2 separate regions of the Homo sapiens genome follow, and region 2 is linked to region 1. Evidence: promoter capture Hi-C in human tissues and cell types (Jung and others, 2019). All regions are on one chromosome and are shown on one strand. The core of a region is centred on a gene start or on the middle of the fragment in contact, and the rest is flanking DNA. Distances in the headings are between cores, read along the strand shown. Region 1 holds the start of PAX8 (paired box 8). Region 2 holds the start of LOC124906070 (a long non-coding RNA gene).

What was found. Contacts are between HindIII fragments. The study calls those that stand out against the background at their distance.
Region 2: a contact is called between a fragment that was not itself captured here and the fragment with the promoter of PAX8 in region 1, in 2 of the 25 tissues and cell types used here (neural progenitor cells and spleen).

Annotation. Positions count from the first base shown.
Region 1 is chr2:113,277,671-113,284,757 of GRCh38, reverse strand. PAX8 (paired box 8) reads left to right here and starts at 5,837. Exons shown (of 12, transcript NM_003466.4): 1 at 5,837-5,927; 2 at 6,289-6,388. The coding sequence starts at 6,364. RefSeq lists a promoter at 5,235-6,364. The HindIII fragment of the contact is 12,536 bases long and covers 1-7,087 here.
Region 2 is chr2:113,355,962-113,363,048 of GRCh38, reverse strand. All of the region lies in intron 2 of LINC02966 (long intergenic non-protein coding RNA 2966), which reads right to left. It overlaps LOC124906070 (a long non-coding RNA gene), which reads left to right and starts at 3,405. Exons shown (of 3, transcript XR_007087202.1): 1 at 3,405-3,560; 2 at 5,323-5,373. The HindIII fragment of the contact is 7,963 bases long and covers 1-7,087 here.

The sequences.
Region 1 (7,087 bases), core at 4,588-7,087:
CTTCACTGGGTGTTGTGAAAGATAAATGGGGCTGTGTATAAGGCACTCCACAGTTCCTGGCATTAAGTAATACTTAGTAAATAACAGTAGTAGTAACTGTTGTTATTAGAAGGAAATACCATGCTTAGCATTCTCTTGGGGTAATGGTATGTCCACCCTGGTGTGGGGGCCATGAGTAGCAAGGATAGCCACTGAAGCATAGAAAGGAAAACGGGGCTCCAGACCCCTAAGCCCTCAAGTCTGCTCCTTCAGATGCAGGGAAGGCAGGCACTGTGTGGTCCACAACATGACACAAGAGGACACAGCCCTGTAGTGAGCCTAGCCCCATGAAGGAGTGGGCGAAGCACCCAAGTTTACTGCACTCAGAATGTGCCAGAAGCCCTCCTGGGGTAAGCAAAAGGCCAGTTAGATCTCTTGAATCTTCTCTATGCCTCAACCTCGTTCCCTTGCCCCACTCAAACCTGCAGAGTCTCTGGTCCCTTCACCAGGCCCCTGGGCACTGCCAGGAGCTGGGGAGGATAGGCCCTATTCCGTGGTTTGTGCCCACAGCAGGAACTGCTGGCATTCCAAGGCCATAAAGAACAAAAGCCAACCCTGAATCTGATGAAAAGCCCTGGGCCTGGGTTTTTTCCTTGGCACTTCCCCAAGAACAGCTGTCAGGAAGGCAGCCACTCCAGGGCCCTGGCACTGGTCTGAGAGGATTCCTGCGTCCTGACTCCTGCTGCTCTGGGCTGGACCACAGGGGCCTAGCTGAGGGGAGGGCATTCCTGCCTGGTGAGCTGCTCTCCTCTCCCGTGGTAGGAAAGTTTTCCAGCCTTGGGGGTCTGACCTCACCCTGGCCACTCCCTGGGTTCCAGAAACTTCCTTCCTGAGGGGAAGGGGCAGGTGTGGAGAGTAGCAAAAACTAGGCTGAAGTGAGTAGAATTTATAATATTTAAGGCAAAGCCTGAGTCACTGGTGCTTTATTTGGCCACCTAGTTGGCTGTCTGCTAGCTGGGTGGCCTTGCTCTCTACTTACCTTCCCTAGAATCCAGTTTCCTCATCTGCAAGATGGGTTGCCAAAAGGGTCTAGCTCATTTTTTCTAACTTAAAAAAAAAAAAAAAAAAAACTATGATTACTAGAGAAAAAAATTGAGCTGTGTACGTCAATCCTTTTATCTCCCTCTGTCACCTTCCTTTTTGTGTCCCCAGGAAGTTTTTTTTCCACCCATTTGTAAGTACCAGGGTCTCCTTCCAGAAGCCCAGGCAACTGCTGCCAAAGGCTGTGGGGTGGGCAAAGAGCCCAAGGGACAAGTGCCCAGGACACATCCCTACCCAAACCAACTGGACAAATGCCACCAGTGGTTTCTTCCAAACTGCCCTCGGCAGCCCAACCAGTGGCTCTTTTCCTTTCACCTGCCAGGACCTATATTTCTATTTCTGAGTTTTCAAAGCCTAGGGAGGTGGAGAACCTGGAATAATTAATGATTGATTTTCAGGCACTGCCACCAGGAGGCCCCAGGGCAGGCTGTCGGCCATTTCCTGAGTGCAGGGACAGGGTTGAAATCCCACGTGGCTTCGGCAGGATTGGGCAAGTCTGTGAGGGGAGAGGGTGGAGCGAAAACTGCCAGTGCCCTGAACACTTCTGCCCTCTGCAAAATGATGAAGTCGCTGCTGGAAGTTCTGCTGGGGTGCTGGCCTTCTGCCATTGACTCTCCCCTCTCTCTGGGTCAACGAATGTTAATTGCTGCCCTCACAGACACCCCTGCCCCACTGCTACCCTTGCACCCACGCCTGCACCCACAGGCACGGGCTCACTGGCCCTTTCCTCTCCAAGGCTCCTTTGGGAAAGGATTAAAGGAACCGACTTCCACAGCAAAACTTTAGGGACATTTTAACTTTGCCCTCTTTGGATGTATTCCTCTGCCTTTGTTGTCTAATAATAATTAACTTTTGTACAGAGGTGTAGTTTTCAAAGGGCCTTCACATTCATAATTTTATTCGTCCTCACAACAAAGCTACGAGGTGGGTCTGACCCTCCCCAGCCCCCCGTCTATATCCACATCATGCAGAAGGGGAAACTGAGGTTCGGGCAGAAGAAATCATCCCATTCTACACAATTAGGGCTGGAACACTCACCTCTGATGCAAAGTAGAGAGCTGCTGTTTTCTTCCTGAAGGGATGTACTTTAGTCCCAACAATGGTTCGTTACGTAGGGGAAGTGGCATGGTGGCAAGTAAGCCAGGAGGATTGTTGGGAGCAGTGGTCTTCCCTCGAGGCTGGTCTCTGGGCATTGTGCCCAGAGAAACCAGGGTACATAGGAGTAAGAGGAAGAGCTCATGGACCTACTGGAGTTCAAGGGTCTCAGTCACCTGAGCCAGCAGGTAGAATGACCCAAGTGTGCAAACAATCACCCACCCAATAGTCAGTTGAAACACGGCAGCTTATAAAAGACCCCCAAACCATCCCACTCCCACACTCTAATCAGCTAGGATGACCAATTCATCCTGATTTGCCCGGGAAAGTCCCAGTTTTAACTCGCATCTAGAAAACACTGTTGGTTTTCGTCCAGGGCAAACCAGGGCACTTTATTACCCTACCACCAGCCCAGTGCATTACAGCTGAGTCCAGAAAAGAAAGAACATCTTTTGAAGGCTCAGCAGATCAGCATAGAATTAAACAAATTGTGGGATATTATGCAAATTCAAAAACCACTGTAGTTAGGCAATTACCTAGGATTGTTGGAATGTTAAACCTGAAAGAATGTTCATTTCCACAAAGAAACGCTCAGATCTGCGGCCAGATCTCTTGCATTTTCAAAGGCAAGGCAGAGTTAGTCTCTCGTCTCTACTTCTGTATTTTGATATTGGCAATGAATTACATTTTCTCAAAAAAACACTGAGTTTAAAAAAATTATAACTAGTTGCCAGTTGATAATATTGCCACAAAAGCCTTATGGGCCTCAAGCCTGAGAAGAAAAGTTGGCAAATGAGGTATTCATTTTAAAAAGTGAGTTCTAAGGCCTGGCCAGGCACAGTGGCTCATGCCTGTGATCCCAGCACTTTGGGAGGCTGAGGCAGGCGGATCACTTGAGGTCTGGAGTTCGAGACCAGCCTGGCCAATGTGGTGAAACCCCGTCTCTACCAAAATATAAAAAATTAGTCAGGCATGATGATGCATACCTGTAGCCCCAGCTAGTCGGGAGGCTGAGGCAGGAGAATCACTTGAACCCAGGAGGTGGAGGTTGTAGTGAGCCGAGATCATGCCACCGCACTCCAGCCTGGGTGACAGAGTGAGACTAAGTCTAGAAGAAAAAAAAAAGAGTTCTAAAAGTCCCATTGAAAGTCTATTAGTCACAGTGCAAATTTATTTTAAAATTTCAAATATCATCATAGGAAGGCATATGATTTTTATTCTTAACTAAAAGCATCATGGATTTTAAGTTTGAAAAAATACTGTGATAATAGGTGATTTTAAAAATATATGTATTTCAAACCTTTCGTTTTGCAGAGGAGGAGACTGATGCCAAAGAGACAGAGTTAAAGCACCAGTTAATGACATTTCCTTGGCCTTGGTCTCAGAGAATTAGGAAGTACCAAGGAACCCAGGCCTGATTTCTGATTCTAATTAGAAGCAGGGTCAGTCCAGGAGGCCTGTGTTTATCTCTGCAGCAGAAGTTCACTGCATTCTCACTTCTTGCTCGTCCTAGATCTTCTCTGCTGAGTCTTCTGGTCACCTGCTATGTCACCTGCAGTCTGGAGAAGAGGTACTGTCAAGGTGTGGGGTGTGTTTTTCCCTGAGGAGTAACCTTGAACAGTGCACATTGTTTTTACCTTGAAATGAAATTTTAAAGATAAATTTATACATGGGACAGGAATGTTCTGATAACTTGCTGGATTTGTCCTCTAAGAAATTTTGCCCAAAAAGGGGATAGGAAAGGGAGAGGGTTCATTGCTTGGGCAGAAAAGATGTGCACAGGCAAGAATGATTGCATGAGAGTCAATGGTTATTGGTACGTATCAGAACCTTAGATTGGGTAGAATCTCTAAGGTTGTCAGAGCTGTTTGAAATGAGGGCGTATTAGATTCACCCTGGAGCATTGCCTCCCTGGTGGGAGGGAATCCTGGGTGGACAAAGAGAGTTTCTGCTGTGGCTGCCACACTCCACACCTCCCCTGCAGCAGGACACAATCCAGGGCAGCAAACTGGCCCATGGGGTCCGGAGGACCTATGCCAAGATCCATTTCCATCCCAACACCCTTGGATTGTCTCTCTCTGGGAGGGACTGCCAGAGAAGTTAGGGATCTGGAGCTTTGAAAACCACAGAGATATTTAAAATTACAATTTTAGAGAAAGATTTAAAATGATGAAGCACCAACTATTTTTGTTTACAGCCCCTCTTTGCAAATGTGGAGGAAACATGTAGGGATACACATCTTCTTCTCTCTTTTTTCACAAGATGATTCATTTCTCCTAAATTGAGAAATGAGAAAGACTGGGTGGAAGGAGGTTGTGGATTGACATGAAAGAGAAAACTTTTTTAATTCAGAAAAATAGTTCATGTGTTTTCACACACGTGTACATATGTGCATACACACACACACACACACACACACACACACATCCAATCCCCCTGAATATCCCAGTTTCCCCTGCACCTTCCTTGCCCCCCTCCCACTGGCTTCTTAGCCTCCTGTCCCAGAACAACCCCACCAGGCCTGCAGAGCCATCACTGAAAAGGGCATGGCTGTCCTCTAGACTGTAATCCTGAGTCCAGAGGTCTGGCCAAAGATTGGAGGAGCATCCAGGCCTTGACCCCCAGGCCTGCCAGTGTTCCAGGACATTTGCTCACTCATACCCACTCACAATCTTACGTGTACCCCGGTTCCCCGACTGAGAGAACTATGAGGAAGGAGGGGGCAGCTTTTGCCATCACTAAGGTAAAGAGGTGCCAGGCAGCTCTGCTCGGTCCCAGGGCTCACCAACCCTGCCATCATTCCCACCAGTGGACCCCTTCTTAACCACACCCAGGCCCCCATATTGCTGAGGCTATTGATTCCTACAGACCAGGCCAGAGGTCAGCTCAGTCCTGTTCCTTTCTAAGGCCTTTCCACACAGAGATGAAGTCTAGGCCCTCAATGCCCTTCCCCTGAACTCTTCTTCCAAGTTCAAAATCCTCAAGGAGCAAGAAAGAGGGCAGGTGGCTGCGTGTGTGTTCCAGAGGAGAGAGGCGAGGAGTTGCTGTGGAATGGGTTATGTGACAATTTTGTTAGCCTGACAATGCAAGGGTGTGAACGCTATCTGTGTAGAACAGAGGGAATGGCTTCAGGTGCTGCTCAGGATTCTTCCCTGGAAGAGGTCATAGCTGTGGTGAGAAGGTAATAGCATCTTGCCTACAGCCCCGAAAGCAGGCTCTACCTAAAGAATCAGGCATAAAACAGAAGTTCCCTCCTTCCTTTTACAAAAGAAAAGGCTGCTTCCTGGTGAGCAAACCAGGGGAGACAGGGGGCAAGGAGGGCATCCTACAGAGACCATCCCTCTCACTTCTGGTGGTCAGTGACCCAGGAGGACCCAGAGAACCTCATCCTCAGGCTCCTAGGCCTCTGTTCCCCACTCCTCCAATATTTCCAGGCCTGCTGAGTTAGGGCTCAGCTGCCTCCCTCTTCCCTCCGCTGGAAACAGAAGCTCCCAGCGAATGTTTCTAACTCCTGAGTCCACTCAGCCATGTCCCCCTTGCAAAATCCTCCCCTTCCCGCACCCCCCTGCACCCAGCCAGCCAATCCGCGGCCTACGAGCCTCGCCAGACCCATCTCCCAGGGCCTCAGCGGGATAAAACCGGTCGGTGATGCCGGGTGGATGGGAACAAACTTCAGAAGGAGGAGAGACACCGGGCCCAGGGCACCCTCGCGGGCGGACCCAAGCAGTGAGGGCCTGCAGCCGGCCGGCCAGGTATGTCACCCAGGGGTTAGCTGGAAGCTGGCTAGCAGTGAGGACGGGGGATGGAAGAAAGGAGAGGGTCCCAGGATGCCTGGCAGCCTTTTCCCTCCCAAGTTAAACGGGATAAGACTGGGACAGCGGAGGGAGTGGGCACGGAGGTTGGAGTCTGGAGCTTCTTCAGCGCACTCCCAATCCTTGATCCTCCCGGGAAGCCTGTTAGCTAGGCTAGGCTGAGGTTGGCCCTACTTCGCCTAAAAATCCTCCTACTCCTGGCAGACGATGCAGGTGTAAAGGATGAGGCCTGGGGAGGGGGCCTGAGGATGCAGGCATCGAATCTCATCGCATCTCATGCCCTTCTCCTGGGTTTGTGCAGGGCAGCGGCAGGCGCGGCCCGGACCTACGGGAGGAAGCCCCGAGCCCTCGGCGGGCTGCGAGCGACTCCCCGGCGATGCCTCACAACTCCATCAGATCTGGTAAGAACGCGGTGTGGTCAGGATCCCCGAGCCCCCGCGCCGCTGAGCGTCCGTGCGTGCGCTCGGGTGGTTGGATCTCGAGAGCGTCAGCACGGGATTCGCGGGACCCACCCGCGTGGGGACCCAGCTGGGGCGCCTGGGGCCTGGCCCTCCGCTGGAGCCGCCTCGCTGTTCTCGGGCACTGGGGTTCCACCCGGCCAGCTGAGCCGCCCTTGCCCGGTTTCGAGGGACCACATGGATCGGTGAGGGGATCTCTGTGGAGTTAGAGGGGGTTTCCTTTGAGCTCCATTCCCAGCCTTGCATGGCGCATTAGTGTGGACATTCTTCGTGCTCTGTCCCTGGGCTGCACCGGTGCTGGACTTGCCGTTTCCCCGTCCCCGACCTCTAAGTCCTCTTCCTCGGGTGCGCGCAGTCCTTCCCAGTGACTCCCCTGGCTGGACTGTGAGCTCCCCGCATCTCTCAAGCCAACGGCAATGGAGCCGGTGGTCCCGGGCCCGGGAGCCGGCAGCGCACTCAGGTGCTCTCCGACTCCTCCTGGCCCAGCACCGGGCAGGCCGGGCGCCGCGCGCGGGGCGTCCGGCTGGTGAGGACTAAGCCGCTCGCGGAGTCAAAACCCCCTCCCCACCTGCGCCCGGAAGCAGGGCCTTCAAACACACTCGAGCTCCCAGGCCGCGATGCCTGTTTTCCCCCTTCCCGGCC
Region 2 (7,087 bases), core at 2,710-5,209, 80 kb before region 1:
TCTACAATAAAACTTTTTAAGAAATTGCCAGGTGTTGTGGCATGCACTTGTAGTCTTAGCTACTCAAGGCTGAGGTGGGAGAATCTCTTGAGCCTAGGAGTTCTAGGTTACAGAGAGCTATGATCACAACACTGCACTCCAGCCTGGGCAACACAGTGAGACCCTGTCCCTAAAAGAAGAAGGAGGAGGAGCAGGAGGAGCAGGAGAAGTAGGAGGAGAAGAGGAGAAATTTCTGAACAGTCCCCTCAAGCAACAAGCAGGTACCTGGGCATTGCCCAGTCCTGGCAGAAATGGGGCTGTGGGCCTAGCAGGACTACTCTCTCCTTTTTTCTGCTCTTAGGATTTCTTTTCATTTGGTTTTCATTGGCTTCTACATCTGAGACCATATTTCACAGCAGCTGCTGGAGTCTGTAATGAAATACTTTATGGGAAAGCACTTTGAAAATATGAAGGAAAAGGCAGGGGGGTTATTTTGAACGTCTGTTTATATTTTCTGTTTTACCTCCATCAAAAAAGCAAATGATAGTTGCAATAAAAGACAGAGTTGTAGTTGCTGGGAGAGAGTTGAATGGGATGGAACTGAAATTACTTGAATTAAATAAGAGTCTCATTATCCCCATGCATAGGAACCAAATACTGAATAGATGTGCAGGGAAGCCTGGGTGGCCCCAGAAATGAAGGAGACATGCTTTCCCCTAGAACTGGGGAGGAGACATGCTCTCCCCTAGAACTGGGGAGGAGACATGTTTTCCTCTAGAACTGGGGAGGTGACAGGCCGAGGTGCCACAGGGCACAGGCGTGCAAGGGCCGTGGACATGGTGTTCATTTTCAGAGGATCTGGGAGCCACTTGCAGGCGAGTTCTTTCATACCTTGGGCCTTGAACTCTTGTGGGCCAAAATGCCTTGAGATCTGTGGTCAGAACATTCATTCAGTGCCCAGGGCCCAGAATGAGAGTTCAAGCTCCCTGACCCCTGGTCAGTGTCATTTCCACTGTCTCAGTGTCTTTCATGGTCTTGAGGTTTCTCACCTGCAAGTACAGCAGAGCTCCCTTAGACTTGGATCTGACCCCTTTTTATTTGGGGTTTTCTTTCTATGCAGGTTCAGCTGCTCCTTCTAGACACCTACACCTGCCTCTTATCCCAACACACAGAAGCATATAGATCTGCAGGGACCAACCAAAAAGCAAACTAAGCAGTTTGCTCATGAACAATATCACCTTACATGGGACCTCCGGGATCCCTGCCCCAGGCCCTGTGCCTCCACGGGCTCTGCTCTGGCCTCCTCAGCCATGACTCTTCCAATGAGGAGAAGCACCTGGGGGACCAAGGGGATAAGCCCACCTGCAGCCCCTCCTCACATAGCCCATGCTCCAGTACACACGGCTAACCTGGGGGTAGTCAGGGGGTGGTCAAAGGGTGGATATTTTGGGGGAGGCCTTTGAAGGGTCAAGATGTCCACCCATCTGTGCACAAGCCCCTCAGGATTCAGACAAGAACTGGGAATGGGGTCAAGGGAGGGCTCAGGCATTCATTTGCACTCTTGCATGGGTCCTGCCAGCACTCAGACCTGCCTATAAAACTCAGTTAAGTGCCAATTTTCCAGAGGAATTGCATTCTATTTGTATAGGGAAAGAGGCTAAGGAGACACAGAGCAAGCCAGCATCCTGGCAGTCTTCAGGCCTGTGCCAGGTCTGGCTGGAAAAGCCCAGGCAGACAGTTGCATGGCCTGCAGAGCCCAGAGGCCCCACTGTGCTGGTGGAGTTGTCCAGCGTCACACAAGAGCCCTTCTCAGAGGGGTCAGCCATGCTCTTCACCAAAGTTGTTTCAGGCCAAGATCCCAGCTACTCTTGAGAACACCTGTAAGTGGATGGTCGGCCAGGGTGGCGCCAGGCAGCCCAGCCTCAACAAACCCATGACCTTCTCCTGACCTCTGCATAGGGCCAGGTTGGGCAAAAGCCCCAGGTTCAGCCACTGGGCAATGTGGCATGGAAACACATTTGAGGCACCAAAGACCTGTTTTCCATGGGCATCACCAGAATTGAAACAGACTGGAACACTGAACTATTACCAAGAAGACAAATAGAAGTCTTAGATTTAACGCCCCAAAATCAGTTGAACAAATACCAAATAAAAGATACCCTAATTCACCAGAGCATTAAAACCTCAGTGTGTCAGGAAACCATAGCTTGTATAAGCCAATTCTCTGCTAAAACAAAAACAAAAATCAAATGCAAACTTAGACTGCATTCATAGAAGTATAGGGTTCCAAATAAAGGAATTAGAAATGGCCCAGGCCACATTTAATACACTGTGCTCTGTTGCGGTAACACATTTTTTAAACCACAATTACAAACCAAAATATTCTCTAATCCACAAATTAATTTGGCAAGGAGGTTGGAATGTAGGCTTTGGAGTATTTTGAAGAAATGGCTTTTTAGCCCAGAAAGAAGATAAACTGGGGAGATTTGAGAGCTACCTTCCAATAATTGATGGATCATATGAGAGATTGCTTGTTTCAATCTAAGTACTACAACAGGATTCTGAGAAGCACAACCCACAGAAATTGACACATACCCCACAGATAGAAATTGACACAACTTTTCTAGAGAACCACATGGCCCTCAATGTTAAGGCCATTAAGAATTCCCACATCCTTTGGCCAGGACTTCTACTGCTAGGAATTTATCTCAAAGAAGTAATCAGAATGTGGCAAAGATTTTCCTACAGTGATATTTATGGCAGTGTTGTTTATAATATTGAAAAATTAGAAACAGTCTAGGTATCCAAAACTAAGAATACCTTACACACATTGCAATATATCCATGCCACAGAAAATTTGGTGACCATTAAAAATATTTAATATGTTTTCAAAGACTTTAATGATATGAGAAATGTCAGAATGTCAGTGAAAAGAACAAGCTGTATACAAAATCTACAGTCAATGTGATTCCAATTTTGTAAAACCTATGCCTGCCCACACAAGCACAAATAGGAAGAAACATACCAAAATGCTAACAGTGCTCATCACTGCAAGTTATATTTATTGGGGATGCTTTCCAAATTATGTTTTCTATATTTTTCAAATTTTCTGCAATGCATGTGTCAACTTTATAATGAGAGAAAAGTACTTAGCATATTTGAAGAGCAGTTATATGCTGAATGAGCGGTAGATTCAGGGATGACTTGAAGCTGGAACTGCTCAAGAACAGCTTCCCAATGAGGTGTGACCTTCTCTCTGGGAGTGTCCAGGTCTGCACTGGGTGGGGGAGTTGAACAAGAGAGTGGCCAAGTGTGAGAAAGGTTGGGATGAAAAGGAAAATGACCTTTACTGAGCATCTGCTACAGACTGGTTTCTATGTTCCAAAGCTGAGATTAAAAATCAAAATAACTTCTGCAATGAACTAAAGCTGGTAAGTGTTGGAGCTGAGACCTGAATCCAGGACTTCCTGGCTCTGAAGCACAAATTTGAAGCAGCCTTCTTCACCTGCAGGAGCCAGGCCTGCATCAGTCATCTGTTTATAAGGCCAACAGCCTGATCACCTCTTGCAATCAACCAACAGGTAGGAAATCTTGCAATTGGTTACAAAAAATTGTCTACTGACAGATTTGTGTGGCCTTCAAGTAGAGACATCTCTTGGACAGGAATTGCTCAGGGAGTCACTGGACCACAGCTGGATTCTCAGAGTCCAGTGTTCCCTCATCACCACACTTCTTAAAGGCCAAGTGGCCTTACTTGTTATGTGGACCAAATCTCCAGCTGATCGACTCCTTTTTAAGCCTTTACGATGGAGTCCCTTCTATTCCAGAAGCTCAAAGCTACCTCCAGAGGAAAATAAGCCATCAGGGTTTAAGATAGCCTATACTGTCCCCTCACCTTTACTGTCTTCCCCACCTTAGCCATTTTGCTAAAGTGCCAAAGAGCACATGGCTCACCTCTCTGACCCAGACCACAATACTGAGTCAACCAAGGAAGTGACTCAAGGAACAGAGTGAATTGGGGATACCATTGAGGGCTCCAGACACCAAACCTGCAACGGTGATACATCTGTCTCCCACTAAGATTTTTGACTTCTAAAGGGTTACTTGAGTCAATGAGTTTTTATTTTCATGAGGGATCTTCAATGGGTCCCAGAAAAAAAACAAGTTATCTACATAATCATTCTTAGAACCTTCTGAGCACTGATGCATTCCTGAGCTGTCAGCTGCTGCTCCTCTCCCTCCCTCCCCACACCAGCTGCACACACACACACACACACACACACACACACACACACTCACCTTCCTGCTAAAGACTCTGAGCACCAAAAAATTTGAACTGTTCCTGGCTGTAGCCAACAGAGTATGGAAAGCAATTGTTTTCAGCAAAGTCTTGCCCAAATGTGGAAGATGAATGTTCTCAGTGGACAGGCCCAACACCAAGCTCCTAAGGAGCACCTTCCTACCTAAGGGAGGGAGATGTACAACCTGCATTGACAGACGCAGGGCCATCAGCTCTGAGGGCAAATGCCCCTTGCAGAACCTGTCAAGAAATAAAATTGTCTCCCATCTGAGAACTAGGGGTAGGGGTGAGGGACTTGAGGGAGAAGTATGTTTCTTGTTTTCTGATTTCCAGGGATTTTTAAACAGCCCTCAGTTTTTTTTTAAATAAGGGCTATATTATAGCTTTAAAAATAAGGGCTATATTTCCAAATCCTTCCTAAACTGATATATTTTCTAAGAAAAGGCAGTCTTTGAGCACCAACATATATTTAAGAGAGTCAGAAATGCCCGGCATGGGACACTTGGCTCCCATCCTTCATGAAACTATTTTCAGAGCATCTAAATATTTTCCCCGGACAACCCTAATAACCCACTGTGGGTCTCCAGCTATAGGACCTTGGGAAATTCATCTGACATCTCTGGATGTCACCCTCCTGCTCTATAAAATAAAGGTGTGATCATCAAGATGCCTCCCAGTTTTAAATTGTATGATTCAACTCAACTGTGAATTGGTGTAGACCAAGTGTTGGCAAACTACAGCTTGCTGGTCAAATCTGGGCCTTGCTAATTGTGTAAATAGCATGTTAATAGAACCCAGTCATGCTCATTCATAGGTACTGTCTATGGCTACTTTTGTACTACAATGGCAGAGTTGAGCATTTAGGGCAGTGTTGATCCACAAAGCCAGAAATATTTACTCTGATCTTTTACAGAAAATGTTTGCTCACTCCTGGTTTCAACCATTAGAAACTGAGAGCTTGAATTTGACAATGGGAAGCCAGGCGTTCTGTAGGGAGCTCACAGCAATATGTTCATAGGATGGGATTCTATTTATATTTTCAGCCTGTGCCACCTCTTGGGATCACACAGCAGGCAGCAAACTTATGGAACGTGGTAAGTAGAACTTTCTTGTCATTGTCCTAAAACTGCTGGTTGTAAGCTTCAGTGAGTGCCACCTTGGCAGGCAGGCTGTCTCCCTCTTGGTTCTCTCCACATCCTAGAGATTTCCATCATGCCCTGCTCACTCTGCCTTTTTTCAGATTTTACTGCTTTTTAAAAATCTGTCCTCAAACAGAAGCCTTTTCTTCCCCTTGAGTGTTTTAATTGCTCTTCTCTGGACCATGTCCAGGATCATTATGTCTTCACAAGAGCCTGTGACCAGACCTACACACTTTCAGGAGCAGACACTGTGGTTGCAAGCAAAGAGAAACATTTTGACTATGGAGCTCTGGGGTTGAGGGCTGGGCTTTGTGATCAGACCTGGGTTAGAATCCAGACTCTCACACCTTCTAGATATGTGACCTTTGTCAGTGACAGCATCTCTGCTACAGACCCTAAAGTGGTTGTGCATAATGAGTCAGGGAGATGACAAGACACGATGTTCAGTGCAGAATCTGAATATTTACTCATTCAGGTATACAGTTTGCTGACGGTGTTCTGTGTATGGACTCCCATCTTCAGAGAAGCCAGCTGCGATTTCAACTATACATATTTGTGTGTGTGTATATATAAATGTATGTATATATGTACATATATGTGTGTATATGTATAGTATATATGTGTGTACATATATATGTAGTTGAAATCATAGCCGAAGTCTCTGAAGACAATTCACAAATATACACACACACATATACATGCATATGTAATTGTATATACAGTTGTATACTATATATATCTATATATTGACTTATATACACGTATACATATATACACATATATTTATGTATTGAAAACTAACAAAATTTATCTTCCTAACTGAGCATGAGGCCCCTTGCAGGGACTCAGCTTTACCCATCTTTCTGTACACCTAGGGATGTGTGAAATACCAGACTACCTTGCTGAAGGGACCCTACAGGCCACCTTGTAGCCCAGAAAAAAAAAAGTCCAGTAGAATTGAGCCGTAAATGAGAAGCAGTAATCGCAATAAATACCTGCGAATTCATATTCTAAAGTGAATGGCTCTTGGAATTCTTGTTTTAAAAGTTATTTAGCAAACACTTATTGAACACTTAATATGAGCCAAACCCCTTCAAGTAGGGTGTGGCCTTTGCATTCCTAAGTATTGGTTTACAGCTCATTAGGCCTTTGACAAGGCAGCTGGGGTTGAAGAGAAAGGTAACCCTGGAGTGTCCCAAGCCATTGTCACCTGGAGGTAATGCATCTCTGCAGCGTTAGGGAAAGCCCGTGAGAACATAAGCTTTATTCACCAGCACCAAAGGTATGCTCTAGCATTTAGGAAATGCACAATGCCTCAACTCCTTCTGGAATCCCACCTGGGCACCCAGCATCCTGCGAGTACAATTCGTCTGATTTTTTTCCTAAGCAGGTTGCCTGAACTCATCTGCCCCTTAGCTGCTAGACGGAGCTACTCTGCAGTTTCAGGGCCACAACAGATACTGACCATAAGAGTCTAATCTCAGACACGGTTTAAACACAGATGGCCCAAGGAACTCCATCTGAGAGCTGAGGGGAGCCCAAAATGTCTCCCTGCCTCAGCCCCAGGTAACTCTGGGTGCTTTAGAAAGCAAAAAAGTTGCCAAAGGCCTCTGCTTGCGGCTCCCATTACCCCTGAGCAAACCCCTATCTCTAATAGGATCACGCATTA